Regions from separate parts of the Homo sapiens genome. Here regions 1 and 3 are each linked to region 2. Evidence: promoter capture Hi-C in 16 types of primary human blood cells and fetal thymus (Javierre and others, 2016). All regions are on one chromosome and are shown on one strand. Each heading gives the region's core, a stretch centred on a gene start or on the middle of the fragment in contact. The rest is flanking DNA. Distances are from core to core; before and after follow the strand shown. Region 1 overlaps LRRFIP1 (LRR binding FLII interacting protein 1). Region 2 holds the start of HDLBP (high density lipoprotein binding protein). Region 3 overlaps LRRFIP1 (LRR binding FLII interacting protein 1).

Region 1 (4,450 bases), core at 1,628-4,127, 3.6 Mb after region 2:
GATTAGTTAAAGGTGATGATAAAATCAGGCAGCATGCACAGAACAGAAAGGAGCCTGAAGGAAGGAACCTTGAGACACTTACATGGGAAGGATAAGAGGTGTGTAAGAACAAGTCAAGACAGAGAAGGGGTAGTTAGAGAGTCAGAAAATAGAGACATCTCCTGGAAGCCACAGAGTGAAGAGAGCAAGGTCAGGAAAGACTTTAATTTGCAACTAGAAAAACACTGGTCATTACATTCTGCCATTAAAATTTGGCAATTAAACATTTTCTGTGATTTGTGCATGTGTAATAAATGGTAGACGGCAGCCTTGAAGGAAGGCGGGACCAAGGAAAAGGCTTTGCATGGGGGAGATTTATTCATGGTTTGTCGGTTTTTAAGGATGGAAGAGATGTGAGCCTGTCTGGAGGCTGAAAGGACAGTGAGAAAAGATGGAGTGGGTGGGGCAAGGCCTGAGGGGCTGCCGACCAAAGGCTGGGTGTGGGGAGCGGGGAGGGGAGCTGCAGGCACTGGCATCTTGTACTGACTCAGGATTTGATCCGATTGTGAGCTCCATGGGAATGAGGACACCAAAGTGGCCAGGAGAGGGCAGATAACTAGATGCAGAGCTTCCTGTGCAGGAAGAGTGGATGGCAGAGTTGAGGGAGGATAAGGAGCAGGAGGACCCAATATTGAAGGACCTGCCTCAGAGCTGTATGTGTCCCAGTCAAGGTGCACTGTACCTGAGCTCAGAGCCCTTCCATGGCGTTACATTACACCATTAAATGTTGTTTTGTGATACACTCTGAGGCATACTTAAAATAATTTCTAATGTATTTTACTCTGGAATTAAACTCATCTCAAAAAGTGTCTAGGAATAAGTCTATAGCAATCCTAAATGTATCCGCTTTCCCAGTGTGTTCCACAGAATTGATGCTTTTTAAGTCCATACCAGAGTGACCACAGTAACCTCCTCTATACACAGTAGCCAAGGAAATGGCCACAAACACCTCCAGTAAAGCATCTCTAAGAAAACCACTTCTGATTTTTGGGGTTTTTTTGTGTGGGGGGGGGAGGGTAGGGAGACAAGGTCTCACACTGTTGAGTGTCAGGTTGGAGTGCAATGGCACAATCTTGGCTCACTACATACAACCTTGGCTCACTGCAACCTTGTCTCAAGCTATCCTCCCAACTCAGCCTCCCAAGTAGCTAGGCCTGCAGGTGTGCACCACCACGCCTGGCTAATTTTTTTTTTTTTTTCAGAGACAGGGTTTCAGCATGTTGCCCAGGGTGATCTTGAACTCCTGGGCTCAAGCAATCCACTAACCTTGGCCTCCCAAAGTGTTGGAATTACAGGTCTGAGCCACCGCACCAGGCCCAATTTTGTTTTTCATGAAGACAATGCACTGCAAATATCTACCAATTACCTTCTAAAAACACGACAGCTAAAATCCATTATGTATTTCTCAGTCTTACAGGCACAAACTCTGAAAAGTCCTCCTAAGGCAGCTCTCCTGTGAAGAAAAAAAAAATCTATACATGCTCTCAGAATAGTTCATTTAAAATGTTCAGAATAGATGCTGACATGGGGAAATAAGCTTCATCCTCAACAACTGCATTCACCAGCTAACAGTATACCCCACTGAGAAGAAATAAATCAAATGCTTCAATATATACTTAGGAATAGAAAATGGCAATTTGTTTTTTTTGAGATAGTCTTGCTCTGTAGCCTAGGCTGGTGTGCAGTGGTGTGATCTCGGCTCACTGCAGCCTCCGCCTCCTGGGTTCAAGTGATTCTCCTGCTTCAGCCTCCCAAGTAGCTGGGACTACAGGTGTGTGCCACCACACCCAACTACTTTTTTTTTGTATTTTTAATAGAGATGGGGTTTCACCATGTTGGCCAGGCTGGTCTTGAATTCCTGGCCTCGAGAGATCTACCCGCCTCGGCCTCCCAAAGTGCTGGGATTACAGGTGTGAGCCACTATACTTGGCCAAAAAAAAAAAAAAAATGGCAATTTTAGTACAAAATAAAAGCAATGTATTTTTTCCAGAGATTCCCTCATTTATGTGGCTTTGCCTCAGTAATCCTGCCTATGAGTTTAACATTCTAGAAAAGAGAATATTCCTGACAGTCAGAGCCATGAAATAAATCTTTACGCTACTAGCTGAAAACTTCAGAATCCACCACGCTACAAATGTCATTGATAAATGTCATTCACAAAAAAAAGAAGTGTGGGGAGAATAGGACTCCATAATCTGAATTTAAACAGTACCCATAGCATACAGAGAAGTTTAAGGTACTCAAGATGTATTCGAAGGCTTAAAAGTAAAGCACTGCCACTAAGCAACTTGGCTTCCAGGCTCCCTGACTGAAGGGCAGACATGAACATCAGGAACGGTGAGCATCCTTCCAGCTGAAGGTACAGAAATCCTAAAACAGCATCCCCAAAATGATCTTTCCAAGAAAATGAATTTCCATAAAGGAAAATAAAGGCTAAAACACACTTCGGCATAACACTAAAAACATAGACCCACACTCTAATAGAAGGGTTTGCCCTTTTGCACTTTGGCCCTTGAGAGATAGCTCAAAGCAAAGTCATCAACTATTCGAGTACAAAAAATGTTCTCCATGTGTACAAATTGGATATCTTTAGAGAAGACTTGGACATAGAACATACAAGCCTCACCTTTGAAGAATGAAGATCTTAGATGAACTTCAGGGGGAGTGTGAGGAACGCCAGAGAGCAGCCATTTGGAGAGACATGCTTGGCACGAGAGTGGAAATTCTGGAATAACTGGAGATCAAATAGCCACTCCTGACCACGTCACCTTTATACCCTGTACCTCACTGGGCAGCTGCCTTGGCATGATGAGAGGGCGTGGTCCCCTAAACGCACTGGAGGCTTTCCAAATGCTTCTCTGACCTGACCGTCGGCTTGATTTTAGTTGCTGAGATTCCACTGAAGCCCTCGCCCCTTGTCTCCACCCCGTTGGTGGCATCTGTATCAAATGTGCTGTCGGGCTTTTTGGGAAACCCTAGGATTGATAAAGAGCAGGGTCCCCTGACGTTTGGGGTTGCACAGTTCCTTGTCGTGGGCGGCTGTCCTGTGCATTGCAGGATGGCTAGCCGCGTTCCTGGCTCCACCCACCAGATGCTGGCAGCGCTCTCCACCCCAGCTGTTACAACCAAAAATATCTCAGACATTGCCAAGTGGCCCTGGATCTAGAGGGGCCTGTACCTGCATCCGAGGTGCCCACACTGTGGAAGCACATTCATGTCTCAGCTTATACAGCTGGATGGGGCCCCAACAGTTCCACAGCAAAGCATGCACAGAAAGAATGGTCAAGATGGGAATATGTGCACACGGCATCTAACATCTGTTGCCTTCTTCTTTCATCCAGTGAGAACTTGAAGGCAGGGCTGCTTGTCAGGGACGGCAAGAAAGTCAGCGCCAGGAGCATTGAAAGACAGGAGGTGCAGGTCACTGGGTGGGAAGTGGGGAGTTGAGATTTCAGATGTGGTGTGGTCACACCAAGGGATGTAATCCTGGAAGTTGGCTGGAAGAAAGAACAGCTGAAGTGAGAAGATCAAAGAACTGGGTTTTGCTTCTCGGCACCTCTGGGAAGGCCCAATCCAAGAGTAAGCCGATGGGAGAGAAAACAACCCTGCACCCCTACACAGAGAATGCAAGTGACCTGTGCAGAAGGCCTCAAAGCTCCAAAGCAGAGGTTTAGCAGATAATCAGGCTCGAGCTCCTGTTCTGCCATTCACTAGCCTGTAATTTCAAGGAAATCCCCTGACCTCTTCCAGCTTCCTACGTAAAGCAGGGAGAGAGACAGCCAGCAGACAGGACTGCCCGGAGGACTGCAAGTAACAGGGGACCTGAGCCTGGCATGAACAAGTACTTTGTTCCGTTGCACTGGCAAAAGATTCCGTCTGGCAGCTCATTCCATCTGCTATTTGACCATACACAGATTATTTTTTTCCCGCAAAACAAGGGGCTCTAGAATTACAATTTACATCCAGGTTAGAGAAGTTGCGGGAAGGTCTAGCATCACTCAGTTAGCTTGGACTAGGTTTAAAACTTCATCAGTGCTTTTGGCACACTCAGGGAGCTTCTGCCGTCTTTCAGGCAGCTGTCCGTCTTCGAGCCCAGCACTGTGTTGTTGCTTTACTGCTATTCCCAAAGCCAAGCTTGTGGAGTTCTTAGTCCTCAGATGAACACAATTAAGAATAGGACTTTGGGAGGCCGAGGCGGGCGGATCACGAGGTCAGGAGATCGAGACCATCCCAGCTAAAACGGTGAAACCCCGTCTCTACTAAAAATACAAAAAATTAGCCGGGCGTAGTGGCGGGCGCCTGTAGTCCCAGCTACTTGGGAGGCTGAGGCAGGAGAATGGCGTGAACCCGGGAGGCGGAGCTTGCAGTGAGCCGAGATCCCGCCACTGCACTCCAGCCTGGGCGACAGAGC
Region 2 (4,276 bases), core at 1,271-3,770:
GACATTTCAACTTTGCTTTGACTTTACCAAGTTTCTCCTGCCATCTTTTTTTTTTCCTGTTTTTTTTTTTCTGAAACATAACTTGGATCCACAATGTTTTCTCTCATAATTTATTAACTAATGTGAAATGGAAGGTGAAAGAGGAATTATGAACCTCTGAAGCACATGGTTTTCAGTGAGAAAGCCTTGATCCAGCAACACAAACTGCCAAGCACTGTGATTAACTTAAACACTGGGTGCAAATTGGACCAAAAATGTAGTCAAATGAAAATTTTGTTCCTTCAGATCGTGTTTATTCCACATGCCAGAAGTTGTTTAAAGTTCTTTAATCTTGACCCACAGCTTATTTCTTCCACAGAATAACCCCAATACACATAAAAAACCAATTTTCGCAAAACAAAAGATAGAAGATGAACAACATCTGGCGATGTAGAACCCGGAAGGTCCATGATCTTATTCAAAGCATCTGGATTCTTTGGATTCGGGGAAGGTCCACGTTCAGTATACCCACATAACACTCCTAACAGGGACTGGGGCAGGGATAAGTGGCATGTATGACTACTAACAGAACAGACAATACAAATGGCCTTACCTCACCTCTGCTGCCAAATGAGTTTTGGTGTCCCCATTCCTCCAGACAAAAAAAAAAAAAAAAATACCCACAACTTCTTCTTTTACAGCAGTTTCTGTATGCTGGTATTGGGGATAAAAAGGGGCCCTGAATTACATTTATGAATGATAGAGGGAAACCCTGGCCCCTTTCCCTAGGTCACCTTGCTAGTTTAAGAGCCAGTCAGAATGTAAATCTGATCTAATTAAAACGCTCTTGTTCTTTATTCCTGGCTGTGGCACTGGTGAGAGAAATCAAGGTGGAAGTTGAGGAAAAAAAATCAGGACAACCTTTATAGCTAATGAGATCAATGCCAAGATTATACATAACAGTACACATCATGAGTTAGGATGCTGGGTGGTGCAAAGAACCCATTAATGGGAGCTATCAAAAATCACTGAAAACAATGAGGCTCAAATCAGAAGTATCAAGAATCAGCTTTCATGACCCCTACACCATGATGTTTTTCTTTATGACGGCAGAACTATTTTGAAACATTAAATATATCGGCAGGCACTGTGATTCAAAAAGTATTTGAGAACCTACTAGGTGCTAGACACCAACCGAGGCAATGAGTATGGGTGACAACATGTGCCCTGCCCTCACAGCACCAATAGTCCACTGGACAAATACCATCTGGAACATCAGGTAAACACCTAAGCCTGTCTGGAGGAAATCTAATTTGGGCGGAATCCCACAAGCACAGACTAGGTAAGGAGAAGGCAGTTAAGGTGGGAAGTAGCCAGATTTAAGAGTTTGGGCAATGGCCAAAGGTGCAGAAGTTTGAACTACAAGAAGTTCAGTGTAGTTGGTTCGTGTGTTTCCGTGGAGAGAGGACAAGGTCTGGTGGCACTGACAAGAATTAGACCGAAAAGGTAAAAAAGCAAGCCAGGTTTGTCTGGGCCAGTAGGCCAGGTCACAGTTGGGACTCCACTGAGACCACGGAAGCCACAGGTTTGCTCCTCATCCCCGGGCCAACTCGGCGGCCTCCAACCCTATACCCTACCCCCTGCTGCCTGTCCGTGCCTCGCTGGTGCAGACCTTCGTCGCCTCTCCTCGCCGAAGGTACCCGCAGACAGGGCCTAGTCGCTCTCCCCTCGCTTATCCACGGCATCCAGCCGATGGGCTTGGAGGTTTGGGGGCTGGCCAGTCCTCCACGCCTCAGGGAGGAAATGGCACCGTTAGAAAGACAAGATGGCCACACAAGCTCTAAGTGTTTGTCGGGCCTAAACCTGTATCCTCCCTCCAAGCACCAAACCTCCCGACCTCGACCGCACTCGACGCCCCGAGGCCCAGCACCGACGACAGTGCAGAGGAATTCCCGCAGGGTCAACAAGGGGTCACCGGAATCCCCACTCCCGCGCCCGGGCCTGCCCGTGTCGGAGCCACTGTCGCCGGCACTAGGACCGCCCGGGACGGGGGAGCCCACGATAAGTGCCGAAGAGCCTGGGCTCGGCCGCCCCTCCCCCACACCGCCCCGCCGGCACCCCAGAGCCAGCCGACCACCGCCCGAGAGTATGGGACGAGCGGCGCGTCCCCCGCAGCTCCTCGGGAGGGCCGGCCCACAACTTGTGCGGGGTACACCGGCGAGACACTCACCCGCCAAACAGCCCGAGAACAGGCGCCGACCGACCGCGCCGCGGACCCGCCCAGCGCTCGCGGTCCGCTCACAGCCCGCCCCAGCCCGCCCCGCCCCGCCCAGCGCGCAGGCGGATTGCGTCACCGCGTCACCCCGCCCCTTTGCCAACTGCTTCCTGGCTCAGTGCGACCTGGCCTTCTTCCCCTCCCCCATGCGGCCGGCTTCCGAGTGCGCAAGCCCAGAGTCGTCCGCGTTGTCCGCCTCTGCGCAAGCGCCGTGCTCCTCCCACGGCAGTTGGCCATATAGAGGCTGGGGGTGGGGGGGGAGGTCAAGCGTAGCCTCTTCTCCTTTACCAAGATGGCGGCTTGTCCCTGTTTCGCCACAGTTCCTACCTTATGAGCTCGGTTTTCTTATGCTTATAAGAGTGGAACAGGTAATGAGAATCTTCGCCTTGCGGTGGGTAACTGGAGTGGGGGGAAGGCCGTTTGTTAGAAGGAGACAAGTGCCCACTGAGGAGGAGAGAGGCGGTCGCGGGAGGGCAGGTGGTGGCGGGAGTGCGGAGCGATCACGGGGAGGGGGAGCCTTCGCCTCTCCTCCTGTCCTCCAAGAAGATGGCGGCAGCACCGAGCTGGGGCGCCGAGTACGACTGGGCGGGGGACGGCGAGCGGCCGCGCGAAACTCGTCTAGCCCACCACCGCCGCCGTCTCGATGATCGGGGGGCCTCTCTGGGATTGGCTGCGCGCACGTCACGTGGGGCCGACGGGCCCTGCGCAGACCATCGAGTCGGGCGTCCCTCCCCGGGGACGTGGCCTTCCTGTGCCCGGGCTGGGGCCCGCCGCCCCGCGGGGGAGGGCGGAGCTGGCGCGGCCCCTAGCTTTCTCCTTCTGGTGTGGGGCCCGAGGTGAGACCTGGGGAGTGCTCCGCGAGCCCACGAGCAGCGACGTGGCTCGGGGACGGGAGGGTGCCGTGCCTGGCTGCGGCCTGAGCGGGATGGGCGCGGGCGGCTCCGGCCCGCGGGTTGTGCCCCGGCCCGGGGTGTCCTTTCCTCCCTCCCGCGTGGCCTGGAGGCACTGCAACTGTTCGAGACTCACGTCAAGGCTTGGCGCAAATACCCCTCGTTCAGGAAGCCTTCCTAGGTTTCCCCCGCTTAGAGGAAACACTTCCTGAGTTCCTAATGGCTGACCCGCATGGTGTTGGGAACCTGAGCCTTTCTGACACCGTGGCATGTTGCTAGGGTATTTTTGTGCGTAGCTCCTTTGAAAAGTGGTTAGGTGCTCAAGGCTAGCTGCTACATATCCTCTCCATTCGACTTAAAAAATGAGAGGGTCAGACTTGACATGGTGTTTGGACGCCATGTAAAATCGAAGGAAGTCGACTTGGGCTTTGCTTATTAAACAGTGCCTATTATGGTGAAATTAAACGGCTGAAGGAATGTGGATGAGTCGTAATCTTAAGGAACATGACGATTTGCCCCTCAGTTTTGCGTTTTATGTCCTCAGATTCATAGCTACCTATACCCTAAGCCCTCAATCAATGACTTCACATTTATTTGGTGTCTGCTTAAGGATAGTCACTTTCTTAGCAGCTAACTTCCTTAAAACCCTATTAAGATAGGTTAAGTCACAATTAGGGTTTTGTCTAAGGCTCCTGGTAGCGGCACATTGCATAATAAGCTTAATGTTCATTTAGGGAAGCAAATCTGGGATGCTGAAACACTGGATGAAACGTAGTGCTTAGGTTTATATTTTGATTTTTTGACATGTAAAAGTATCCCTAGGCTAAATTCATTAAGTACACATGATATTAGGATGCTTGGCAACAGTATTTAAAAATAGTTGAAAAGGTGTTTGGGTAAGAATTATTTCCATCATTTGGATTACCGAATCTCTGAGTCTGAAACATCAACCTATCAAGTTTTAGACTTGGGGAAAATGGAGCTGGAGCCTACTGCCTCAAGTCTCAGGGACAGCGTTTGAAACCCCATTAAATAATTCATCATGAGGATTAAACTTTCCTGTTACTGCTATTAGTTTTGCTTGGTGCCAAGCACTGTTGAAGGGACTTAGCTCATCTTATCAGGAGTCAAA
Region 3 (4,170 bases), core at 512-3,011, 3.6 Mb after region 2:
AGTACTGCCTAAGGGTGGGGACAGCCCAACACCCTGAACCCCAATTCCAGTGACGTCTGGGGCTCTAGCAGCTCTAATGGCATTTGTATCCTTCTTGTGGCTCCTACCAGAAGATCATCATGTGGTCTCCTCAAAGAACAGAAACACAACCAACACTGGTGGGGCAGGGGCCCTGACTGCTGGCAAAGGGACAGCAGGTGCTGCGGGAGGCTCGCTGGGCAGCTTGCTTCAAAAGCCCCACACTCCTTCAGGGGATCCTGGCACTGCTCATACATTTCCTGAGCATTGAAGCTTTTCTGGGATTCCAGCCTAGTGTAGAATTACAGATCCCAGGGCCTCTCACCCTACAGTCACAGGAAATGTTCTTACTCTGCTTTTAAACTCTGTGGTGATACCCTAGGGGTCCAGAATTCTACACAGAAGCTGGAAGGGGTTTATGAGCCACAACTTTAGGGCAGGCAGTTCCTGAGAAATACTCTGACGTCACTCCTTCCACCCAGGCTGAGAAGGCCCTGCAGCCTGGAAAGCACCGCATGTGAACCAGAGGCGGCTCCCACCTCCCCCCGCAGAGCCCAGGGGAGACCCAGGGCATACAGCTCATGTGCAGATTCGTGGCTGCCATGCCCGCCGTTTGCCAGGAGCCTGTTAGCGCATATTAGGGACACCCAGTGGGCCAATGGACAGAGGACTGGACCATGAACAGCAGCTCTCCTCAGATGTCAGATGGAAATGACGCCCCACGGGGCTGTTCAGGGAGAGAAGCCGTTTGCCAGCTGTAAAGCACTCTGCAAACAGGAGGAAGTTCTCCTATTAATTACACACATTCATTTTCGCCTCCAGGTTTTAGCGTCAAGCAGAGAAGTGAAAAAGCAGCAGCATTATTTTTCTAGGCCCCATGATACATCACCAGTCTAGTTTATAACCTTTTTGGAAAAGTGTTAAGGATGTAATTCAAGTTCACTCACGTGAATGTGACAGGAATATGATGCAGCCGAAGCCTGAAGTGGCCACAAAGGCCAGTTTGTTCACAGACAAGCAGGGGCCTCGGTCCTTGTGCGATTCTTCCCCTGAGCTAAGAAGGAATCAAGCTCCTGGAGGGGCCGTGGTGTACCCAGGCTGTGACACGGGATCCCTTTCCTGAGCCACTTTGCTATAGGAAGTAGCCACAGCCACCAACTTTTGTTTTCTCTGCAAACCCCCCAACCCTCAGATGCAGTGGCCTCTAAAGTTTGCTATTCACAGCAACCAAGTGGGCCGGGTGATGTTCTCCTGCACAGACGTGGACAAGAACGGACGGCACAAGGCTAGCACCTCCGCAACGCAAGGGAGGCTCACCTCGGTTCCGTGTACCCACCACCCCATGTCCCCCAGAGGCGATGTGCACTGTATCTCAGTTCCAAAAGAAATGCTCATGTGGGCAATCTCACGAAGTCCCCCAGGAACCACAAAGAGCCTTCCCTACGGCCATGACTGTGAGAACGATCGTTACCAGGCACAGGGCACTCTGGGGTGGCAGCTGGCAGTGGCGGAAGTGTTGACTTAGAGGGCATTTTGGAAATGTTGGGGGGACTGGGATGTCAAAAAGATTGGGAAGAAGCTAAGGGTATTGGGGCGGGGGGGCAGGGCCAGGTCGGCCAACCATCCCGCATTCAGACACGCCTGCGATGGGAAGAACTTTTCCCTTGACTGCTCAGGAAGATAGAAAAACCACTGTTTTGGCCGGGTGCGGTGGCTCACGCCTGTAATCCCAGCACTTTGGGAGGCCGAGGCAGGCGGATCATCTGAGGTCAGGAGTTCAAGACCAGTCTGACCAACATAGTGAAATCCCATCTCTACTAAAAATACAAAATTAGCCGGGCATGGTGGCGCATGCCTATAATCCCAGCTACTCAGGAGGCTGAGGCAGGAGAATCACTTGAACCCGGGAGGCGGAGGTTGTAGTGAGCCGAGATCTCACCATTGCACTCCAGCCTGGGCGACAGAGCGAAATTCCATCTCAAAAAAAAAGAAAAAAAAAAAAAAGAAAAGAAAAACCACTATTTTTAATTTTTGGATTTACAAACTGATTGCAACTTACATATAAACTCAAAATATGTTTTACACAGTTCAAATATACATGAACTATTCCAGGAATGCAATCGACATGGAAATTGAAGGAAGATGATGATACTTGGCTTTGTTCAGAACTTTCCTGAGAGTTAGTCAACTTTGTAGAATGTCACGTCATAGACAGCAACATGAGGGGTGGTGTGTGGGTCTCAGTGCAACACACCTGTGTCAGCCTCCCTGTGACGCCAGGCACAGGTGTGTGCAGGTCTCATCACTGCATTCAACTGCTGGTGTACTTGGTCTTGAGTATTTCTATATCAAAATTCTTATTATGTTACTATAAACTACCTGTATTTTATTTTTTAAGGAAATGTTATATTGACTCGAAATTATGTGCGCTGGTTGACTTTCTCACCTATGCATTTCATTTCAGGCTAGTAAGGAAGTTAAGGAACTTGTAAAAAGACAGGGTTGAGAACCACAGCTTCAGAACTCCAGTGTGGATCTCTCGTCTCTCCATCACACTGTATGAACCAGCCCCGGCACAATTCAGAGCACAGGTCTGGGTGCCTGGTGCTCAGGCCATCATGAAGATTTGGATGGCATAAAGTTAGAGATCAAAGCCTAACTGATTACTTAAAACACTATGTTTCCATCAAAATTAACTCAGACAAATTATGGAGTAGACTGAAATTACCATGAAAGTTTACGGTAAGACGGCCACCTTCAAAGAAGGCTTTAGCTTACAAGGCTGCTCCTGGCCGGGCCCACAGGCCCCAGGAGCCAGCACACTGTCCTCTGCACTCGGGGGACCTGGCAGACAAGTCCAAGAAATGCTGGGTGCCGACTGCTTCTCTCAGCTATGGCTGCACTGTTCTCAGTAAAGGTCTGAGTTTATGCAGGTGCAGACTGTCAAGAAAGGAGTCTGAAGACCCAGCCACAGCCTCCAGCTTGGGCTCTGTCACCTACAGTTATGTGAGCCTGGATAAGTTACTCGGTTTTTGAACCCCAGCCCTCATTAAAGAAGTAGGAGGGGACGTAATCTTTAAGAGCTTCCTTCCCCTCTGAAATTCTTTGGGTTCATGCCAGAGGTGAATTATTTGTACACTGAGATTGTCCACAGACTGTGTCTGTTTTGCTACTGGAAATCTCCAGGCTTTGCTTTTCAGAATAATAAGCTTCTTTAAAGTCCTTCGCATCCTAAAATAGCAAACGTATTAATCGGGAACAAAATGATTGATGTTACTTTATTGATGACTCACACATTGACCTATTCAAACCTCACAACACAATCTTGGGCTTAGCAGCTACTCCCACTGGCGCTAAGAAATAAATACGCTATACAGTATCTTCCATGCAAGTGAACTTCTACTCTTGCTGTTAATACATTTCTTGCTTTTCCTGAGATGAATGAATCTTCATATTTCCTTCAATTGCCTCAACATGATGGAAATACAAGAACCATGACTACCACTAACAGAGACGTGCGGGACTGAGAGGCGAGGGCGGCTGGGCCTCCCCTGTGCCGTTTCCTCTCCAGGTGACAGGTTTCCCTCCAGGCAGCACGTCTGGGCTCCACTCCCTTCACCTTTGCCTGCTCTGCTCAAGACTGTCCTACAAACCCCAGACCTCTAGGGTTTCACAAAAACATTTAAATTGTTTCCTCTGAGAAGAAGGCTGAAAGCTCCACCAGCACCAGGGCAGCACACAGCAACTGACAATCTTTCCTATATTCAGTGGATATTCCCTGGAACCAGCTATAAAAGAAACAGCAGCTGTCATGTTTATCCTCCATGAACTTATCTACTTGGATGAGGTAGGGGAGGAGTTACATCATACCCAGAAAAATAAAAAGGCTTAAATCACAGCAGCTCTCAGGTGTATGCCGACATAAGCAGTAGTTAACATTTTAGCATGGTACAAAAATAGCAAAACAAGTTTCACAGCTATTTCATTTCTACCATTATTTTCCTTATGTAGAAAAGTAAAGCTCATTGGGCCGGGTGTGGTGGCTCATGCCTGTAATCCCAGCACTTTGGGAGGCCGAGATGGGAGGATCACTTGAGGTCAGGAGTTTGAGACCACCCCGGCCAATGTGGTGAAACCCCATCTCTACTAAAA

The links. The method cuts DNA at HindIII sites, captures the fragments that hold promoters and counts their contacts. A CHiCAGO score of 5 or more calls a contact.
Region 1: a contact is called between a fragment that was not itself captured here and the fragment with the promoter of HDLBP in region 2, in 1 of 17 cell types (neutrophils). The highest score is 6.4, in neutrophils.
Region 3: a contact is called between a fragment that was not itself captured here and the fragment with the promoter of HDLBP in region 2, in 1 of 17 cell types (neutrophils). The highest score is 5.7, in neutrophils.

Annotation. Positions count from the first base shown.
Region 1 is chr2:237,681,711-237,686,160 of GRCh38, reverse strand. The region is part of intron 1 of LRRFIP1 (LRR binding FLII interacting protein 1); the gene reads right to left. Among named protein-coding and RNA genes, the nearest start is that of LRRFIP1, 56 kb to the right of the region's middle. The HindIII fragment of the contact is 2,597 bases long and covers 1,579-4,175 here.
Region 2 is chr2:241,313,916-241,318,191 of GRCh38, reverse strand. It overlaps HDLBP (high density lipoprotein binding protein), which reads left to right and starts at 2,520. Exons shown (of 28, transcript NM_005336.6): 1 at 2,520-2,622. It overlaps SEPTIN2 (septin 2), which reads right to left and starts at 2,267. Exons shown (of 13, transcript NM_004404.5): 1 at 2,210-2,267. RefSeq lists enhancers at 1,070-1,794, 1,745-1,804, 1,795-2,519, 2,445-2,544, 2,565-2,614 and 1 more and silencers at 1,995-2,344, 2,885-3,264. The HindIII fragment of the contact is 7,846 bases long and covers 1-3,864 here.
Region 3 is chr2:237,697,199-237,701,368 of GRCh38, reverse strand. All of the region lies in intron 1 of LRRFIP1 (LRR binding FLII interacting protein 1), which reads right to left. Among named protein-coding and RNA genes, the nearest start is that of LRRFIP1, 72 kb to the right of the region's middle. RefSeq lists enhancers at 860-909, 920-969, 4,076-4,170 and a silencer at 2,963-3,012. The HindIII fragment of the contact is 2,936 bases long and covers 294-3,229 here.